Linked DNA regions of Homo sapiens: all the other regions are linked to region 4. Evidence: promoter capture Hi-C in 16 types of primary human blood cells and fetal thymus (Javierre and others, 2016). All regions are on one chromosome and are shown on one strand. The core of a region is centred on a gene start or on the middle of the fragment in contact, and the rest is flanking DNA. Distances in the headings are between cores, read along the strand shown. Region 1 overlaps TNFSF8 (TNF superfamily member 8). Region 2 has its middle 24 kb from the start of TNFSF8. Region 3 has its middle 35 kb from the start of TNFSF8. Region 4 holds the start of WHRN (whirlin).

The links. Contacts are between HindIII fragments. The CHiCAGO score rates a contact against its expected background, and 5 or more counts as called.
Region 1: a fragment that was not itself captured here is called in contact with the fragment with the promoter of WHRN in region 4 in 2 of 17 cell types (naive B cells and total B cells); the score reaches 9.0 in naive B cells.
Region 2: a fragment that was not itself captured here is called in contact with the fragment with the promoter of WHRN in region 4 in 1 of 17 cell types (naive B cells); the score reaches 5.7 in naive B cells.
Region 3: a fragment that was not itself captured here is called in contact with the fragment with the promoter of WHRN in region 4 in 1 of 17 cell types (naive B cells); the score reaches 7.5 in naive B cells.

Annotation. Positions count from the first base shown.
Region 1 is chr9:114,918,385-114,921,412 of GRCh38, forward strand. All of the region lies in intron 1 of TNFSF8 (TNF superfamily member 8), which reads right to left. Among named protein-coding and RNA genes, the nearest start is that of TNFSF8, 11 kb to the right of the region's middle. The HindIII fragment of the contact is 218 bases long and covers 1,437-1,654 here.
Region 2 is chr9:114,952,707-114,955,495 of GRCh38, forward strand. No RefSeq gene overlaps it. Among named protein-coding and RNA genes, the nearest start is that of TNFSF8, 24 kb to the left of the region's middle. The HindIII fragment of the contact is 474 bases long and covers 1,230-1,703 here.
Region 3 is chr9:114,894,448-114,897,352 of GRCh38, forward strand. It overlaps a transcript of TNFSF8 not described here. Among named protein-coding and RNA genes, the nearest start is that of TNFSF8, 35 kb to the right of the region's middle. RefSeq lists an enhancer at 1-590. The HindIII fragment of the contact is 246 bases long and covers 1,192-1,437 here.
Region 4 is chr9:114,503,835-114,506,728 of GRCh38, forward strand. WHRN (whirlin) reads right to left here and starts at 1,639. Exons shown (of 12, transcript NM_015404.4): 1 at 350-1,639. The coding sequence starts at 967. RefSeq lists enhancers at 128-1,018, 1,019-1,909 and a silencer at 1,434-1,733. The HindIII fragment of the contact is 12,008 bases long and covers 1-2,894 here.

The sequences.
Region 1 (3,028 bases), core at 296-2,795, 410 kb after region 4:
AGTGAGATAAAATGACTTGCCTAGGGCCACATAGTTAATTTATAGAAGATCAGGGACCAGAGCTGGGACTTTTTTTTTTTTTTTAGACAAAGTTTTACTCTGTCACCCATGCTGGAGTGCAGTGGTATGATCATGGGTCACTGCAGCTTCATCCTCCTGAGTTCAAGCGATCCTCTTGCCTCAGCTTCCTGAGTAGCTGGGAGTACAGGTGCACACCACTACACTCAGCTAATTAAAAAAAGGAGTCTTGCTCTGTTGCCAGGCTGGAGTGCAGTGGCACTATCTTGGCTCACTGCAACCTCCGCCTCCCAGTTCAGGTGATTCTCCTGCCTCAGTCTCCAGAGTAGCTGGGACTACAGGCACCCACCACCACACCCAGCTAAGTTTTGTATTTTTAGTAGACACAGGGTTTCACCATATTGGCCAGGTTGGTCTCGAACTCCTGACCTTGTGGTCCACCCGCCTCAGCCTCCCAAAGTGCTGGGATTACAGGTGTGAGCTATCACACTCGGCTAGAGCCAGGACTCAACTCCCAATCTGGTGCTTTTCCCCCCTCCATATGTTTGGGTGTTTTTTTCTTTTTTTTTCCTTCTGGTCAACATGAGAATAATCAAGTATATCATAAAAGTAGATGTGTTTTTTTTTTTTCCATGTTTGATTCATCTGTGAACGTATGTTGTAAACATACCTGGGAAGGTACATCTCTATGTCTCCTGTGGTTGGAAATTCTGAATTAATTGTGTGTTTATATGCCAAGCATTGTGAGGACACCATACATAATTAAATTGGGTCCCCATCCTTATGGATTTATTACAAGTTTATATTTAAATATACAAATATGTATACACATGTAGTATACATACAAATGCATATTATATATTTAAACATTTACATAGTATATTATTTATTCTGTAATAAATATATACATAAATATTTACACAAATAAGAGGTTGATAGAAACAGATTGTCTTTTGAAGGAGGGAATCCTGGGCTGGGGATTGAAGGTGACTAAAGGGAGGTTCTAGTTCAAGGACTCTCAACAAGGAGTTAACAGAAGCAGAGAGGCACAGTTCTTTTCCCCTAATAAATTCTTCAGACACTAAGTTTCACACCCTGATTGTCCCTCCCCTTTCTCTCCAGCCATGGAGACACCCATACAATATTCTGCCAATAAGGAATGAAGTATTTTATTCATCTTTTGACCTGCCCAGGTTGGAATCTCCTGTATTGCATTGAATTAAAATATTAGTAAAGACCTAGAGAGGTGTGAGCGTGTGTATGCGAAAAAACCAACTTCCTAACCTCTACCAAAGCAAGAAATTAGCAGCCGCCCACAGCTTATTTTCTTAGTGTTCTGTATGAACACTAGGACCATCTGGAGTTCCCCTATTATTGTAACATTTCCCTGGGAGGTCTGTCATTTGCCTTCCGCTGAAAGCTTGTTTTCTTATGAATGGATCTCTTCTCTAGTGCAAGAGGTTGGTAGTGAGTCAAGGAGGTCTCCTGAAGGCAAAGCCCTGGCACAGCACCAATCTGGAGATGGGGGAAGTCAGCTTAAACATTTGGGCCCTACCTTCTCAGGGGAAGGGAGGCAAACTTGTCCTGGAAGGCCCTTCCTACTGTAACAGTCTACGACTTTGTTGCCTTAGTTGAAAGCTTTTAACCTAACAAAGCTAAGTTTTTGTAGTCTTTCAGTTATGCATGCAGTTTGCAGGAAAACTTGATATCACAAAATTCCCCTTTATGTTGCCCTTGTGAGACAACACACAACATTTTAAAATTTAATAAACAACTTACAACTTACTGCCAAGCGTGACCATTGATTAGCATGATGTGCAAATGCACTAAGAAAAATATCTGCATTGAAATGTCTTACCACAATCATCAAATTCATCAAGCTGCCCAGGGACATATACAGGGACAGTGAGAGAGGCTAGAATAGCAAACCTGGTACAGCCATCATTGCAGAGGCTGCTAGCAGTTCGGGAAGTCCTAGAGAATCATTCATGCAGCACACCTTGAATGAGCACCTGGTCTGTGGTAGGAACTACGTTAGTCACTAAAAGACATCCTATGGATTTTATGCTTTAGTCATTAAGGCAGCCATTTAAAAAATATAAATAAATGTGTAATTAGAATTGCAGGTTGTGGCAAGAGCTATGGAGGAAAAGAATCATAGTGCTTTAAGGTAGTGCTGTTAGAACTTCAATGTGCATATGAATCACCTGGGAGTCTCGTTAAAATGCAAATTCTGATTCTGCAGATTTGGGGGGAGTTTAACATTCTGCATTTTTTTCTTTTTGAGATGGAGCCTCACTCTGTCACCCAGGCTGGAGTGCAGTGGCGCAATCTCGGCTCACTGTAGCCTCCATCTCCTGGATTCGAGCAATTCCTCTACCTCAGCCTCCCCAGTAGCTGGGACTACAGGGGCCCACCACCACCCCCGGCTAATTTTTGTATTTTTAGTAGAGACGGGATTTCGCCATGTTGACCAGGCTGGTCTTGAACTCCTGACCTCTTGTGATCTGCCCGCCTGGGCCTCCCAAAGTGCTGGGATTACAAGCGTGAGCCACCGCACCTGGCCAACATTCTGTATTTCTGGCAGCTTTCGAGTAATACTGACACTCCTGGCCCACAGAACACTTTGAATAGCACAGCTGTGAGAAGTAATATCAGAGAGGAGGACCTAATTTATATGGGGGTCAAGGAAAGCCTCTTTTCTCTCTGTCACTTGAATGCATTCTGGTTTCCTAATTTCAGACATGGGATGTCAAAAGCAGAGCATCTCAAACAGGAAAGAAACCTGTCATTTAAACCTTCACCCAGGGCCCAGGAAGTCCATGACAGAAGCGTGACTATTCCTATTTTGAAGAGCTCTTGGGATGAGGTCTTTACAGCTTCTCCTAGCTACCCATGGTAGTCAAGATTAGACAATCAAAGCCAGAGGGAGATTGAGACATCTTTCAGTCCATCAAGCTAATTTTATGGAGGAGGAAACCAAGGCACTCATGAGTCAGAGGCAGATCTT
Region 2 (2,789 bases), core at 217-2,716, 450 kb after region 4:
TCAAGGAAGAAGCAGGTATGAGAATCCAGCTGTCTCATATTAAGCCAGAGATAGAAGAGATTTACAAAACTCTAAAACCAATGTTGCTCTTAGCATTTTTTTAAATGTTATTTTTTCATAAAAATATGTTAAACTATTTCTGTAACTCTTTACCTATTAATTTATTTTAAAATAATAATAACCCATGAATCCCACTGCAACAGGATTATTGCTGTTGTTTTAAAATAAATTAATAAGTACAGATTTTTTAAGTTTCTCAGTTTTTATTTCTAATAATATTCATAGATAAAGCCGTATGCACACAAGTTTTTTGGAGTCCTCAATTTTTAAAAGGCTACGGAGTTTTGAGACCAAAATGACTGAAAACTACTGACTACATTAACGTTTAGGAGACATTGTTGATTCTGTGCTGCCTACTCCCAGTGCAATAAAAGTAATTTGTAATTAATCCTTAGTAATTCTGACAAGAAAATGCCAACAGCAATGATGTGAAGGCATCCTGCTGCTTTTAAAGGAAGCAAGACTTAATATGCAGAGAGTTAAGAGCTATTTCACAAAAATAATTACATCTGGGTTCACTTTAACCCAAGGGCATGGATTGCAAAATGTAATTAGAGCACATTTTCTCAAATATTAATTGCTATTTCTTTAATAGAGGAAAATCATAATAGAAAAAAATAAAAAAGGAACTCCACCTCTCGGAATTTCACTATGCCAGGCTTCTGGCCAAGGGCATGTGATGGCTTCTTTTCAGCAGTCTTGAAGGGGTCTCCTCACAAGCAAAGCAATGCAATCTGCATTGTGATCCTGATTCTGCTATCAGCTTGCTGCTCTCCCTGGGTTCCATTTTCCTCATGGAGGTAGGGAGAGAGTATCTCTTGGGTCCTTCCTTGAGAGACTCATCTGTATTGAGACATCTGAAACAGAATGAGGAGCGGATAAAGAGGGCATTTAGGAAGCCAATGCAGTGATGGCCAAGACCAAGACTTTGGATTTAGTCAAAGAGAGGCCCATAGGAGCCCAAGGAGAGATTGTAGGAAATCTTGCATCCAAAATTCCAGGAGGGATTAAGGGAAAGTAGTGGGTATGTATAAGGAGCAAAGTAGGAGTTTACTTGAGAAGAAGAAGCTGTCACATAGTTGATGAGAGCAGGCAATCCCTGAGTAGCACATGGCCACTTCCAAATCCAGCAAGGACATTGGGGAGGTCCCCTTGCTGGCTTATGTCTAAGCTTGACATGTCATCCTACAGGAAACACATACAGTCTGGCTCCACTTTCTGACAGTACGGTAACTTCTTTTGTTAGGTTATGGACTGGAATCTGTTTATAGGCAAAAATCTTAAAAGGAAGAAACATATGCCAAATGTTGGTCTCAGTCTTGCGACACATTCTTGTGTTTATGGCATCATCCAGTGACTCAGCGTTGCTTTTTGGATAGGGTACAAATGCTTCATGGTCTCTTTCCTGCTGTCTTTGCAAGTTTGCTCCTGAGGGCTTCTGCAGGCACACTCTCCCCTTCAGCTGATCGTAACGACTTCAGATCCTTTAAGTCCCAACGGAGCTCGCTCTCACACCCAAGCCTTTGCACATGCTGGTCCTTCTACCTGGAGGCCCATTCCCCTAAACTGGCTGACTGGCTAGCTTTCAAGTTCTCAGTTTAAATGTCATCTTCTTAGAACCACCTTCCCTGCAGACTAAAGTAAGCTTATAGTTTATCTACCTCCATTATTCTCTCTCATGGTACCTCGTTTTAGGGCTTCATAATACCTATCATATTTTATAATTTTTGAGATTGAGTATTTTTGGAAATTAACTGCCACTTTATCAAGTTAAAAAACATGCTGAAGGTTTATAATGAAAACAGCAGTGCTCTGCCTATGAATCTCTACCTCACTTGGTCCTGCTCTCCAGAGAAATCACTTGGAACTGTGCTAGCTGTCTCTTCTAATACATGCCTCAGTATTTCTAGCAAATATGCTTATATTGTTATATATTGATTTATTAATATTAGACTTCTACTGATTTTCTGCTATAAAAGGAAAATTTAGATCTTCTATACATCTCTTCATTTCTCCTCTTGCTTTAATATTCATTTCACAATTTTTGGATAAATCCAAATCATTGTTTATGTTTTTATGATTATACAAAAATTATTTGCAGAGTCCAAGTAGTATACTAGGATCATATATTTTCTTGTCCAACTTTATTCTTCCTAAAATTGCCTGTTTACCTCCAGTTGGTGTTGTTTGTTCTACATTTATTTTTATCTTTTTTTCACCCATTCCATCAGATCACTAATTAGTTTTTCCTTTTAAATCAGGCGTTGGCAAACTCTTTCTATAAAAGATCATATAGTAAATATTTTTAGACTTTTTGGTCCAGACAGCCTCTGTTGCAACTACTCAACTCAGCTGTTAAAGTCATGGGCAATATGCAACTGAGCTGCAGACAATATGTAAATGAAGGGGGGCAGCTGGCCATGTTCCAAAAAACCTTTATTTACAAAAGCAGGTGGTAGGCAGGATTTGGTCCACGGACTGCAGTTTGTCAACTCCTAATCAAAATGATAAAATAGACCAGATATTATTTTTTTGTAATGCTTTACTTTCCCAAAGCCCTGTCCTAGAGCCCCCTTGCCTGCGTTGCTATCTGTACTGCTGGTTCTCTTTGTGTCCTACCCTGCTGGCATCCTGGAACTTCCCCCCACTGTTTTCCTGTTTTAGACCCCTTGTTTTTTGGACCTCCGCACTTCCTCTTTCTTGTTTCATTCCTTGGTTTAGCTGGAGGA
Region 3 (2,905 bases), core at 65-2,564, 390 kb after region 4:
AGGAATCAGCAGGCACCAGGTCAAGTAGCCTCAGGGTAGTGCAGTGTAGTGTGGTTAGAAATATAGCTCTGGAGCCAAACTGCAGTGGTTACATCTTAGCTCTTCAGCTCATGAGCTGCTGAAACTTAGACATACTTAAGCATTTCTTCGAGCCTCTGTTTCCTCATCTGCAACATGGGAATGGTCATCTCTATCTCATAAGGGTGAGATGCAGTAGACTACAGTATTTGAAGGCTTCCATGTGGTGCCTGAAACCTGGCAAGCAAGCGTTCAGTAAGTGATAGTAATTATATCTATTTACGTAACATAAAGCGGTTTAAGTAAACACATCAAAGTAATGAATGAGGAGGATGAAAAGACCAGATGCAATTGAGGACTGTGTGAGTGTATGAATGTAATGTTGGTGGTAGAAATGAAGCCTCCTTCAGTGTTTTCTTGCTGTTTACTCATCCCATTGTATTGATCCTGTGATGGATTGTGACCTTTCTTCCCTTGAGTACTGTGCCATGCGCTGACTGCATCAGGCCAGCTGGTAAAATGAGACTCATTGTGAGAACGGAAGGCATAGTCAGAATGTCAAGGAGGTTAGGTCATCTGCGTCCCTAGCAATGGAAAGGAAATGATGAAATACTTCAGCTGGTTTTTGTTTGGAGCCTCCTGGTTGTGAAGGAGGATCAGCCTTCAAATCAGCTTGTTCCTGACTAGTTTAGCTGATATCCCTGCCTGGTAATTCCCTCTTCCTGTTGCAAGTGAAATCTAAACATTTCCTGAGTGCTGACTTTGTGTAGGACACTGATTTGGGTGCTGGGATTTGGAGATGGATTCTTCTTGTCTTCTAAGTGCTCATTTCTAAGTGAGAAAAGTGTTCATTTGCAGTGCAATCAGTGCTGCTTCTAGAGAGGCACAGGGAGAGGACCTTGATACTGCATCTCGCAAACAGTCAGTTGGTTATCTAGTCCAGTTTTCCCTGCAGGATGAAACCATCCTTTGAGAGTTGGCCTGACAGAGACCTTTGTTGATCCAATGGCTGGCTTTTCTGAATGCAGATGGGAATAGGCTTCAGTGGATTTGAGGAACTTTCACTTTTCTCAAACTTGCATTGATTCATTTTTTCCTACTCCTCTCCCCAAGGTCTAACTCCTTCACAGACACTGAATATGATAAAATACCCCAAGAGTTGTACACTTTCCAAGCTTATTCTATGTGTTTGTTCTCCCAACAGCTTCCCATTGTACAGCTGAGAAAATTTAAGTTTACAAAGTCCATGTGACTTGCCAAGGTCATAGAGTTAGTAATTGCTTCAGCTCAGATTGAAACTGGCTTCCAGTTGCCAAGGCCACTATTCTTTCCCATCTGCCACCCTCAGACTTGTTTTTTTCTCTTTCCTTGGCTATAGGGAAAGTACAGCCCCCATAGAAGTTTCTAAACTGCATCCAAAGCTTTCAACATGTTGTCCAGATTATTCCTAGTGTTGCCCAATATTCCCAAGGGAGACAGTTGGATCAAAAGCAGTTGTTAAAAATTCAGTGGTGATCATTACAAATGAATACCATCACGTTGACTTGATGGTTTTGTAGTGTTTAGACCCTCACATTTGCATAAGCAGCAGACAAGGAAGACCAAGCCAATTCATGAAAGTCCACTTGGGGGAAACAGAGAAACATAACGGATTACCAGCAATCTTCTCCACTTACCAGAAAAAGTCAACCAACTAGTGTTCTTCAGATTGTAAGGTGCACCTGAATCTCTTGGATCATATTAAAATGCAGATTCTGTTCCAGTTTTTAGGTATGTATGAGATGCCTGCATTTTTAACAAGCTCTCTGGTGATACCAGGCACCAGGACATAACAGCAAAGATTTAAACCACTGACTCTTAATATTTGGCTTAAATTTGGGAGCTTAAAATAATCCTGATGCCTGGGTTCTAAATCCAGAGATTCTAATTTAATTGCTCTAGGAAGTGGCCTGGGATTTCAGGATTCTAAGGTATACCAAGGTTTGATTTAAACTTTCTAGTGTATTTCAAAATATCTAGAAGAGAGGATTTTGAATGTTCTCACCTCAAAGAAATAACTGTTTAAAGTAAGGGATATGTTCACTATTGCACAATGTATACATGTATTGAAATATCACACTGTGCTACCTAAATATGTACACTATTTTTGTGTCAATCAAAAATAAAATAAAACTTAAAAAACTTTCTAAGGTTAATCTCACTATTTCTAATCACAAAATGACTAGAATAGCATATAGATATCTCAGAGATAGGAAGGGTGATGGATTCTACAGCAAATATACCACACCTTGCTCAGAAAAGGGGTTCAATAAAGTAAGCAAAGATTTATTTTTTTTTCCTTCCATGTTCTCAGATGGCACAGGTAGATTCTGCTTTCTAAAAATTTCACCTTTCTCTAATAGGCATTCTTATCTCCTGAGCCCTGAAAATTCTTTTTTTCTTTCTTTTTTTTTGAGATTGAGTTTCACTCTTGTTGCCCAGGCTGGAGTTGCAGTGGTGCAATCTCGGCTCACTGCAACCTCCTTCTCCTGGGTTCAAGCGATTCTCCTGCCTCAGCCTCCCGAGTAGCTGGGATTACAGGCATGTGCCACCACGCCTGGCTAATTTTGATTTTTAGTAGAGACGGGGTTTCTCCATGTTGGTCAGGCTGGTCTCGAACCCCTGACCTCAAGTGATCCACCCACCTTGCCCTCCCAAAGTGCTGGCATTACAGGCATAAGCCACTGTCCCCGGCCTGAAAATTATTTCTAAGAAAAATAGAGGCTTTCAATGAACATTTCCATATTTTGAAAAGAACTGTTTTTTTTTTTCTTTTGTTTTGGTATGGCTTGATATCTTTTCCTTAAAACGGACTTATGTTTAAAGTGGTTTTCTTTGATTATTCATT
Region 4 (2,894 bases), core at 389-2,888:
CCACCTAATTATGCCAAGCAGAGATTTTATCTCTTTTAATGCTCATAAGAATCCACAGCCCTATTCACACATTGTAACCACACATTTGCTCAAGTATTTGTTACTATCACCTGCACTAGCTTTTAAGCCTCACAAAGGCAAGGGCCATGTCTGTGCAGAACTACGTTCCCAGTGCCTGAGAGCTATTTGCTCTGTAAGCTATACATTCCTGTTTTAAAGTATTAAAAAAAAAAAAAAAGCCCAGAAAGGCCAAGTGATTCATCTAAGGACACACAGCATGGAGTTACTGAAAAAGCTGTGCCACTCTGTCCATACTCTGCCCCAGACTCTCTCCAAACCACAGCCTTACCTTGACGGCCTCCGCGTGGGTCACCCGGGCCAGGGATTTGTCGTTGACGCGCAGAATCTGGTCCCCGACCCGCAGTCCTTCCTTCTCAGCTAGAGAGCCTGGTTCCACCAGAGACACGTAGATGCCCACGCCGTGCTCCGAGCCCCCACGGATGCTGAAGCCCAAGCCCTCGTGGGCCTTGGCACGCCGCAAACTCACCAGGCGCACCTCCCCTGGCCCCGCGCTGTCGGGGCCGCCCCAGGCGGGCTGCCTGTAGGGGGTGGTGGCGGGCAGGTAGAGGCCCTCGGCCGTGTATTGGTCGAAGAGCAGCTGGTCGGAGCGCGGGATGACCAGACGAAGCATGGGCAGCAGGCGCCGCTTGACCGGACTGTCCAGCAGCACGCGCAGGGTGCGCACCAGGTCGAAGACGTTGCGGCGCGCGTGGTAAGCGTTCAGGCAGTGGGTGAACTGCTCCCGCTCCGCCTCGCTCAGCAGCGCGGTCAGCGCTTGGTGCAGCTGGCGCACGTTGGCAGACAGTAACCGCAGCCCCGCGCCCCCGCCGCCGCCCGCCCCGGCCGCCGAGCCCAGCGAGCCGGTGGAGGACGAGCTCACCGACAGGCCGTCCAGCGGCGCGTTCATCTCCACGCCGAGGCCCGGCCGGGCTCTGAGCGCGCGGGGTGTGGGCGGTGCCGCTGTCCTCGCGGGTACTGGCGCGACAGCTGGATCCCCGGGAGCGCGGAGACGACGGCTGGAGCCTGGGTTTGGGGAGCACGGGTACAGTGGCTGGATCCTAGGGGGTCGCGGAGACCGCTGCTAGAGTCCCGGAGGCGCGAAGACGGCGGGGGTCGCGAACCTGGAATCCGGGGGACGCGGAGACGTCGGCGGGTTCCTGAGAGACACAAGAGTTGGCTGCTGGAGCCCGGAGGTGGCGGAGACTGCTGCTGGAGTCCGGGGGGCGCGGGGTCAGCAGCTACATTCTGGAGGGCACGGAGACGACGGGTGGCTGGAGTTTGGGGGCGCCGCAAAGCTGACCTGACTGCCCCGTCACACCATGCCCGGGGCTCCCCCAGCCGGGCGCCCGTTCCTCTAGGGCTGGGGGACCCCAAAGTCAGAAGTTGGGGCGGAGGGCGCTCTAGTCCCAGAGCACTCCGGGGAGTGGCAGCCGGTGAAGCGGCGCGGGCGTCCGACAAGGGGTGCGGGGCATGTCCGGGGCAGCCCCGGGATGCAGCCGCCCGGGGAGCCTCCGCGCCTCTGCGCCGCCCGGCCGCAAGCCCGGACTTTGCGAACTGTTGAGCCACCCGGGCCGAGTCTTCCAGCGAGTTCCGACGCCGTCTCGTTGCCAGCCCGGCCCGGGCCCCGCCCCCTCGTCCCTCCTCCTGCCCGCCCCCTCCCCACGGGCTCCTCAGGAAATGACGTCCCGCCCGGTGCGCCTGGCCGTTGCCTGGAGACGGGGTGAAACAGTCCAGCCCCAGGGAAGAAAGGGGTGAACGCGGCGGTAGGGGTGGGAGGAGCCCCCGCGTCCCCTACCCCGCCGGCAGAGCCGGGAGCGGGGCTCAGAAACAGCGCTCTTCGGCGGTCGCAGCGAGTGCCGACACCAGGATCGCTTTGGAGTAATTAGCCGGCTAGCTAATTCACAATTCGGGGGGAAATCGTCAAGTTTTTTGTTTGTTTGATTTTTGCTTCCAAAATACTGGGCACTTCAGTCTCGGTTTTCTTCCTTACAATGTGGCGCTCCCCTCCTGCACGCGCCCTGACATGACAAATTCCAGGGTTTATGTGGACGGTCGTTGGCCACCTACTGTGTGCGAGAGACGAATACAAGCATAGACTGCTGTCTGCCGGAGTCAACTCCGTGGCAGGGATGGATCAGGCTGGACCCCTTCCCAGTCTCCATTGCAAGGGAAAAGCCACTTTCAGAAATATTATATAAAGTGTACACCCCACGCTCGCGCACACACGTACAAATGAGCGCATATAAAACTGGTGAAATCTGAGTAAGGTGGGTGGATTTTATCAATGTCAATGTCCTGGTTGCCATCGTGTCAACATCGGGGGAAACTGGGTGAAGGGTACATGGCATGTCTATGTATTATTTCTTAGAACTGCATTTGGATCTACAATCTCAAAATAGAAATTAAAAATATACATATTTGAAGTGGCTTGGAGAAAAATCTCTTCTATGCTCTCCCATCCCTAGGCAAAATGGGAAGATACACCCAGGTGTGCCCTGGAGTCGGTCGTCACCCACCCAATCCCCCAAATAAGATTTAAGTAAAATCCTGTGCTTTTATTCTAATGGGGAGCTTCATAGTGCTACACACACACACACACACATACACACACACACCCTACCTCACACACATCCCTTCCAACCTGAGCTGCCTCTCCTAAGCTACTCTTCTATGTATTTTTCGTAAAAGTCTTCCAGAATTTCCATTGCAGAGCCAGCTGACATCTATCCAGGGTAGGGCAAGATGGAGGATTACCTGGAGGATTTGGTTTGTGGTGGACCCAGAAGGATAGATCATTCATTTATTTATTTATTTATTTATTTATTTATTTATTT